Regions from separate parts of the Homo sapiens genome. Here region 2 is linked to region 1. Evidence: promoter capture Hi-C in 16 types of primary human blood cells and fetal thymus (Javierre and others, 2016). All regions are on one chromosome and are shown on one strand. The core of a region is centred on a gene start or on the middle of the fragment in contact, and the rest is flanking DNA. Distances in the headings are between cores, read along the strand shown. Region 1 holds the start of PPM1M (protein phosphatase, Mg2+/Mn2+ dependent 1M). Region 2 overlaps CISH (cytokine inducible SH2 containing protein).

Region 1 (4,493 bases), core at 902-3,401:
ATAGGCTTAAGATCCAGGCAAGAGTGAGGCGCTTAGGAGCCCAGGAAGCCAGAAGAGCCTGGTAGCACTGAAGGAACACTCAGGCCACCTTGGAACAGAGAGGATGGGATTGCCATGTGGTTCCACATGGCTCTGAAAATAGACAATGGCTAAGCTGTGCAACAGACTGCCTATGACATTTGGTTGCCCAGAGCTTCTGTGAAAATACTTCAGGACAAGGCTTTCCCCCACCCAGGGGTGGGTTGGGGAATAGAGTGTATGCACTTTGTTTTGTCCAATTTTAGACTTTAAAATCCTCTGAGGCATCAACTGGTGAGGGTGAGGAAGTGGCCCCATAGACTGAATTGGGCCTGCCCCACCCTGGTACCTTTCTGTTCTGTCACAGTGACAATTCACAGCTCAGAGGTCCTTTGGGAAACTTTCTCTGACATCGCCCCTATCCTCTTGCCAGCTGGATGAAGCAGCATCCACCAGAACTGCTACCATCACTGCAGGGGGCTTGGTGGGCAGAGGCCTGGCTTGTCTCCATTAGCACTGCGTTCCTGTGCCCAGTGTGGCCCCAGCAGACACTGTGGGTTCAGTCAATCAGCCCCCAGGCTGGTCTGGGACTGAGTCATCGGAGGGAGTGGGTGTTGGGCACAGGTCCCTGCCCTAAGAACCTTCCTTCTTGGGCCCGAGGAACTCCCACTGGGGCAGGACTAGCTGCTGGGAGGAAGTAGGGCTTACTGAGCGTCTACCTGGGCTAGGGAGTGGAGGTGAAGGTGGACTCCTCATACAGCTCATATGCAGGCACTGGGCTGTGGAGCCTTAGCCGCTTTTAATTGGCAAGCCCTGGCTTCCTGGAGGAGGAAAGGGGAAGAGAAGTGCCCTGGGGGCGAGGATTGAGTCAGCTGCATTGTCATAATGGAAATAGTACAGCCCTGGGTGTCCAAGACTTCCCCTCCATGGGCCTCAGAATCGTCCATATGATGTAACACTCTTTTTTTTGAGACTGAGTCTCGCTCTGTTGCCCTGGCTGGAGTGCAGTGGCTCCATCTCGGCTCACTGCAACTTCTGCCTCCTGGGTTCAACCGATTCTTGTGCCCCAGCCTTCTGAGTAACTGGGATTACAGGCGCACACCACCACGCTTGGCTAATTTTTAGTACAGACGGGGTTTCACCATGTTGGCCAGGCTGGTCTCGAACTCCTGACCTCAAGTGATCCGCCCGCCTCGGCCTCCCAAAGCACTGGGATTACAGGCGTGAGCCACTGCCTCCGGCCAAAGTAACACTTTTGCACAGGGAGTTGGACTTGAGTGACAAATGGGTGACAAAGTGCTTTGTTAACTCGCAGATGTGAAGGGGACACTGCGGCTGACCGCCTGGTGACAGCTAGCCAGTGGTTGAGAGACCGCAAGATGGTTCCTCGTCTTTCACTTCCCTCCGTCCCAGGTCTGAACTCGGACCAGCTGGAGCCTTTGGGGGACCACGGATTCCCCTTTACACTCACACAGATTTCTCTTGTCCGTCACTCACTCACAGTCCAGTAAGGATCCTGCTGTCTATTCCGCGAAGACATCTTGAATGCAGGGACAGCCATTTGGAAGACTGTCCTCGAGGGTGGCAGCAGCCTCTCAGGACGGGGAAAGCCAAGGTGCCCACTAAGCCCGTCTGGGGTGGAGGGTGGCAGGCCGGGGTGGAGAGGATTGGAGGCCGCCTGAAGGAACCTGTGCTCGGTGGCATTTACTCAATGTGGGGGTCTGACACCTCCCAGCTCATTTTGTCCCCATCTTCCCCTTGCGTCAGGTCCCCACCCAGCAGGAGGAGGTCCGAGGATCTGCGCGACGCTGGCCCCGCGGAGTGTGGGGGACTTTTCCTCTCAACCACCAGTGCCCCGCAAGCGTGGGTGAACAGTCCTCCCTGGCTACTGTGGGACGCTGGGCAGGCGACTTCGCCTCTCTAGGCCTCGGTTTTCCTGCTTGTCAAATGGGGCTGATGCCGGCGTGGGCTTCTTCAGGCGGTCGCGAGCGTTGACCCCTGGAGTCAGCGAACCAGCCGCGCACGCACTCCCGGGCGGAGGTCGGGGCTGGGGGGCGACGCCTCCCGTCTGCGCGCCCCCGGCCCCGCCTCCCGCCGGCGCACCCCTCCCTCGGCTCCGCCCGCGGCCCGCTTCTTCCTCCCGCGGGCGGCCCAGCCCTAGCGCCCCGCGCTCCGCGGGCAGCCCCCTGCCGCCGCGCCATGTCCGCCGGCTGGTTCCGGCGCCGCTTCCTGCCTGGGGAGCCGCTCCCCGCGCCGCGGCCGCCTGGGCCGCATGCCAGCCCCGTGCCCTACCGACGGCCCCGCTTCCTTCGCGGCTCCAGCTCCAGCCCCGGGGCGGCCGACGCCTCGCGCCGCCCAGACTCCCGGCCCGTGCGCAGCCCCGCACGAGGACGCACGCTACCCTGGAATGCAGGCTACGCCGAGTGAGTGCCCCTCCCCGACCCCCAGCTCAGGCCCGGGCCTGAACCCGCTTCGGGTCCTGCGCCCGCCTAGAAAGCGGGAGGAGCTGAGTGACAGTCCCCACCCACCTGTGGACAGCCCCTTCTTGCCCTCACCTCCGAATCCTGACAACTTCCCGGTCATCCCGACCCAGCGTTTTCCTTGGGATTCCGACCTCCCCCTCAGAGAAGACAGGAGGTCGGGAAGGACCTGCAGCCCAGGGGCTTCCAAGATGAGGCCCAGAGACTCGGTAGAGTTCCAGCATTCGGGGCTTTGGAGATTTCCCCTCGCCCTCTACCCCCACCATCTCACCCTGGGTATGACCTGCGCTGTATGGGACAGGGCTTTGGGCTGCGACAGGACAGGGGCAGGAATGGCAACCTACCCTTACCGTCTAGCCCTGGGTCACCAGGTAGGCTCCAGAGGAGCTGGGCCCTGACTTTTACCTTAGCCATGAGGCCAGTGAAGTTAGGAAGCTTACATCGTGGTTGTCTAAGTGTGTGTTAGGGACAGCACTGGGGAGCTGTTGCCCCAGAGGGAGGGGTCTTCTCCCTGTGCTGGCTTGGGTCCCTGTGCCCATGGGGACATAGGTGTGTCCCTGGAGGGTCGCTTACCATTTCCCGGCCTCAGGATTATCAATGCAGAGAAATCTGAATTCAATGAGGATCAAGCCGCCTGTGGGAAGCTGTGCATCCGGAGATGTGAGTTTGGGGCTGAAGAAGAGTGGCTGACCCTGTGCCCAGAGGAGGTGAGTGCAGTCTGAGTTCTTGGCTGGAATCCCTCCGACAGGCTGGGGCCACGACCTGCAGGCTGAGGTTCTTACCCTGCTGCCCCAGGTCCTAGTTAGGTTGCGTCAGGGGACAAGTGGGGAAGTCAGGCAGAGGCTGACACTGAGCCCTTCCTGTGCAGTTCCTGACAGGCCATTACTGGGCACTGTTCGATGGGCACGGCGGTCCTGCAGCAGCCATCTTGGCTGCCAACACCCTGCACTCCTGCTTGCGCCGGCAGCTGGAGGCCGTGGTGGAAGGCTTGGTGGCCACTCAGCCCCCCATGCACCTCAATGGCCGCTGCATCTGCCCCAGTGACCCTCAGTTTGTGGAGGAAAAGGGCATCAGGGCAGAAGACTTGGTGATCGGGGCATTGGAGAGTGCCTTTCAGGAATGTGTGAGTGTGTGGCTTTTGGCTGGGGAAGAAGTGGAGATTTTGCCCCGGGGATCTCAGGAAATGGCATCTCTGTATACCCATGGTCATCACACCAGATCCTTGGATTGGGAGGATGAGATTGGGTTGGTTGGATTGTTACTAACAGCCATCACTATCAGCATAACCCCTCTCATTTATCCAGCACCTACTGTGTGCTAACTGCTTTTACCTGCATCATCTAATTGAATACCCTATTGGTCCTTGGTGCAGGGGCTGGTTTCTCTTCCTATTTTGAGTAGCACTTCCCTTGTCTAGATCTCCTGACTGCAGGGATCTTGGAGGTATGGCTGGACTTTGGGCTGGGACTGTCAGGCCTGCTGGTAGAAGTGAACTGTAGGGTAGGGTGGGGATTGAGAGACAAAGTAGTATGGTGGCAGAACAGGCAGCAGCTAAGGTGGCCTCGGTTTTCCCCAGGATGAGGTGATCGGGCGGGAGCTGGAGGCCTCAGGCCAGATGGGCGGCTGCACAGCCCTGGTGGCTGTGTCCCTGCAGGGAAAGCTGTACATGGCCAATGCTGGGGATAGCAGGTGAGTCACCCCTTGGAGGGTGGGCAAGGGTGGGATGGGGAGGGCATAAGCAGCAATGGGGACAAGCAAAGGTGGCTGGAAGTGGAGGGATAGTAGGAAGGATTGACTGGCTGAATTGTGTGTGTACTTGTTATGTGTCGAGTGTGGACAGTGGCTGCCGGGGAGGGCAGGGACCTCAAAGGCCCCGCTAAAGGGCTAAGCCTTCACCCTTGCAGGTCTTAGGTAGTCATGGAGGGCTTTAAGGGATCATCATGGACAGAGCTGGATCCTGGTGGTTGGAGGAGGGACTGGTAGGAGGGTGGCCAT
Region 2 (4,493 bases), core at 1,014-3,513, 1.6 Mb before region 1:
CCAGCATCCAGGCCCAGCCACTCTCCAACCACTCTGAGGTCTGCATTCTGACCAAAATCAAACCTCCAGGGACCTCCTCTAGCTTGAGTCTCAGACGTGGGAACTCCAGCCTGCTGCCCCAGAGTGACTCTTGGAGTGACCCCTTGGGTGGTCCACGGGAGCCAGGGAGGGATAGGGAGGACACATCCACCATGAGAGGCTGTTGAATTTCCGGCAAAGCTCAAGTCTACTTTATCTTAAAACTGGTCTAGCAGGTTGGTGTCAAAGGCTGCCCAGGCTTGCACAGGGCCTACTTCTCCTGGAGGAAGAGGGCCTTTATGAGAGCTGGAGAAGTCTGGGATGTCCTATGCACAGACCCTGAGTCTTCCTGCCTTCGTAGTCAGGCCTCTAGGCCTTTAGGCCCCCGGCCCCTCGCCTTCCACTTCACTGTGGGCAACCGTGCAGGACGGGAGGGTCCCCATCTGAGAGTGAGGTGGGCCTAGTCATGGACCCCAGCCCCACTCAGCTGTGTGTCCAGCCTTGGCCAGGAGAGATTTGCTCAGTCAGTAGATTAAAAGTCCAGCCTAGGTGCAGGGACCTAGTGAGATGTACACACTGGCACCAATGATACCCCAGTGGTATGTCTGGAAGGGGGGTGGTATCCAGCAAACACTCCTTGGGGGCAACAAGAAATACCTAGATGGCTTAGCAGCATTTCTGTCCGAAGGTTGTTCCAGAGGGAGGCTTGTGAATCCAGGGAGGGACGCCACACAGGATCAATCTCCAAACCCATTTCCCACCTGGAGGCAGAATCCTCTAGGGCCCAGCCCCCAGACCCCCTCCTCCAGAAAGCCCTCCTGAATCTCCCCATCCTCCTGCATGCCTTCTGAACCTGTGGGTGCCTAGGCTTTAGCAAGCCAGACCCTTGGAGGCAGAATAGAGCAGTGGTTATTCCAAACAATGTCTGGAATCAGGATGTGAACTCTGGCTCTGCCTCTCACCACCCCTCTCTGAGGCCTTCCCTCTTCAGCTGTAGATGAGGACAACCTCTGCTAGTGGGGTAGGAACCCAACCCAGAGTCACAGAGTTGCTGCCCTCACCTCTTTCTGCCCCCGCTCCCACACTCTACCCTCCAGATCCTTCTTTCTGGCCTCTTGCCTCCAGGCCCTCATGAGTACAGATACCTCCCTTAGAAATGAGGGTCAGATCACAGCACTCCCCTGCTAGGCTCTGAAGAGGTGCTTTGCCATCCTCAAATAAAATCCACCTGCTTCCTTTGCCCTTCCCACCCCTCCTGGGCAGCCATTCTGGGCTCTAGGTCTCTGCCTCAGGGCCACTGCACTTGTAGTTCCTTTCACCTGGGACATCCCTTCTGCAAGTTGTCTGCATGGCCAGCTCCTGCTCATTGCCTGGGTCTCCAGGCTCAGTGCCACCCAAAGCTGCAGAGCTATCCCCAACGCCCTCCCAGCTGCAGGGTGTCCCCATTCCCAAAGTTACTCTTCCCACCCCCACTGCTTTTCTTTCTTTACACTCTCAAAGCTTGTCCTATGCACCCATTTGTTCACTAGTTCACTCTCTGTCTCTCCCGCTAGCCCACGAGCCCAATGAGTATGGGGACCGTGTCTGTCTTGTTCCCTGCTGTCTCCAGGACCTAGATGGAGTCTGGCCCAGTTGGTGCCTTTGGAGCACATGTGCTGGTGGAGGACTTAATGATAAAGTGTGACCTTCGTTACTGTTTGTATGTTGTGCAGGGTCCTTGCACCCACCAGAAGGCTCATCCCTTTGTTCCTGGCTAGTGTCAACATGTGTGCCCCTTTTACTAGGCCAGGACCACACAGTGGTGATCACGTTGGCCAGAGGATCTTCAGCATCTGTTAGGCTGAGTCTCTGATTGGGGTCTGGGCAGGCATCATTCACTGCCCTGGCAGGGAAACAAGAAAAGAAGATGGAACCTGGAACCTGTTGGGGGTCAGAAGTAGCTGGCAGCCCCTCCCCAGACAGGAGCCGGGCCCTGGCTTGAGCTGAGGCCAGGGTGAAGAGAACAGGACCTTGGTGGCCAGGCCAGTGGCCAAGAGCTCTCAGCAGGCAGGGATACCAGGAGATAGAAAACAGCATCCAAGAGCAACTTGCCTGGAAGCCACCATCCCTGTCCTCCCCATCTCATGTAGTAATCCGGGGGACAAAAGGTCAGTCAGGACCCCCCAGGGTTAGCTCTGCCCTGAGCCCCACTTGTTGAGTGGCCGTGGTCAGCCCCTTCCCTGCTCTGAGCCTCGGTTTCCTCATCTGTGTAGCGTGGGTAATATTTGGACTTCACTCCCAAAGTTGTGGTGAGTGCTACATGAGGTGCAAGCCCTCGCCCCATGCCCAGCACCTGGCAGGCACCTTGAGACATTTCTCTCTGTGTACAAAGCAGTTTTCTGTGCTTCCTCTAGCCACAGCAGCTTTCTGTCCAGGCTGCAGCACCAGGTGAGGAACAGCTTGACACTGGCCCCTCTGTATCCACTACCCATCCGCTAGGTGACTCAAATCTAGGGGTGAAGCAGACAGAGGGGTTACCTCAGGCATTCTGGAAGCAATGAAGCAGCTGAAATTCAGACTGAAGGAATGAGGAACTGTAAATACCCCTGGCTGGGTCATGGTGACCTGGAGGAAGCGTGCCATCTGGCCCTACAGACAGCCAAGCGCTCAGGCCGCCGCCAGTAACAGGGAAGGCACGTGGCTGGCCACCTGGGTCTGGGCACCACATCCAGGAAAGACAGCCCTCCCTCCATCACCCACCTCTTGCTCACTCTCACCTAACGTCAGACCTATTCTTTGCCATGACTGCCTCCATGTCCCCAGGGTCCTGTGTGAACTCCATGGTTCTTGCTGTCTATCCTCGTCCTTACCCCTCCCTGTAATCAGCCTGTCACTCCTCACCCCTCCTTGCTCTCAACCTGCCAACAAGTGTCTCTTCTACTCTAAGACTTCTAATTGCTTGAGGGCTAAGACAACAGGAAGGTTAGGATTGTTTCCAGAATAAAGGTTAGAAAGCTTTAGAGAAGCTTTCCTGTGGGGCCCTCAAGCAAAGGTGCGGAAAACTTCGGGACACAGGAAGATCTCAACAGATAGTGTTCCAAAGTCAGACTGTCCGGTAATGGAGGGTGTTTTCATTGAAATTGCTCTTCCACACACTTTTGGTGTGCTGAACCCTGAGAGAGAAGAAAGGATCCCCCAATCCCAACCAGTCTGGACTAGAACCCGGACACCTCCGCCCCAGGTCAGACTCTGCCAGCTCACTGGCCCCTACCCCGATTCAATTGCCCTGCCCCACTGCACAGAGCAAGCCCTCTTCAGTTCTGTGTGTCAGGAACACGTGCCTCCCAGTCATGCCTTGGTGCCTTTGCACTCACTGTACCTTCTTCCTGGGAGAACCAGCCCTGACTTCTCTGACTACTAGTTTCCTCATCTCAAGACACTGACCCCAGGAGTAGTCCACAGCTCTCTCTCCCTGGGTATTCTCCACTTGCGATTTGGAGTTGGCATTTCTTGTTTACACATCTCTCAGGGCTGATGCACCTCTGCCACCCTCCCCCGAGCCCTCGCCTGGCAGTGGCCAGGGCAGTCACCCTGCAGGCAGTCTAACTGGCCTTTGTCTCCTAGCTCCCATTTCCCAAGGGGACCCAGGGGAGATGAGAGGAGAGGCTGCTCCCTGTCTCCTCCACTCCTTAATGAGTCCCCAGCAGGGACTGCTCAGCCACATAGAATTTCTGGGCCTCTCCGCTAGCCCAAATATCAAATGGGGGCTAATGATAACAAGATCAAAGGGGACACACTGTGTACACAACTGAAAATCGGCCCCATTGAGGGCTCTGTACATGAAAGGTATCATTTTATTATAGAGGTAATAAAATAAAGAGGTAATAAAGGTATAATGTCATTACAGAAAAATCAGTGGAAGAGAAAAGACCACCAAACTGTTCTTTGCTATAATTATTATTTCATGAAGTCTTATCAGACGTGTATTTCTCTCCTCTCATGTGCAGGCACCTTCCTGGGCAGGAAGCAGACCTAGCAGAACTGCAGTGGCGGCCCTCAAACCAGCACCCCCTCTTCCTGACAGCACAGGCACTCCCCCCGGGGCCTGCGCCACAGTGAGACCAGCTCTATGCAGATACAGCTCTGTCCTGTGAGGGGGTGAGACACAGGCTCTGCTGGGGACTGAGGCTCCGGCTGCATTTTCTTACCTATTGTAGTTGTCCATCCTCCCCAAATATGGCTGGGGGCAGAAGAGAGTGGACACATTCACAGACGGGTGGGTCAGTACCAGGACATCCAGGATTGCCTTGGTTCCAGCAAGATGTCTCAGGATGGGCTTTCCACAGGGAAGAACCAGAGAAGCCAGGGCAGAGTTGGGGTCTCTGGACTACCAGGGCTCAGGGCATAGAGGTGGGGTTGGCTCGCCCCTGACACCAACCCCAAGGAGAATAAATAAATAAATAGTGTATAATTGTGCAGTCCCCTAGCCTGGCTTA

What was found. Contacts are between HindIII fragments. The CHiCAGO score rates a contact against its expected background, and 5 or more counts as called.
Region 2: a contact is called between a fragment that was not itself captured here and the fragment with the promoter of PPM1M in region 1, in 1 of 17 cell types (activated CD4 T cells). The highest score is 6.9, in activated CD4 T cells.

The regions. Positions count from the first base shown.
Region 1 is chr3:52,243,608-52,248,100 of GRCh38, forward strand. It overlaps PPM1M (protein phosphatase, Mg2+/Mn2+ dependent 1M), which reads left to right and starts at 2,152. Exons shown (of 10, transcript NM_144641.4): 1 at 2,152-2,441; 2 at 3,088-3,205; 3 at 3,367-3,621; 4 at 4,075-4,187. The coding sequence starts at 2,218. RefSeq lists silencers at 2,026-2,395, 2,436-2,495. The HindIII fragment of the contact is 3,516 bases long and covers 1-2,931 here.
Region 2 is chr3:50,602,656-50,607,148 of GRCh38, forward strand. It overlaps CISH (cytokine inducible SH2 containing protein), which reads right to left. Exons shown (of 3, transcript NM_145071.4): 3 at 3,834-4,493. Among named protein-coding and RNA genes, the nearest start is that of CISH, 6.9 kb to the right of the region's middle. RefSeq lists an enhancer at 1-72 and a silencer at 2,595-2,644. The HindIII fragment of the contact is 1,494 bases long and covers 1,517-3,010 here.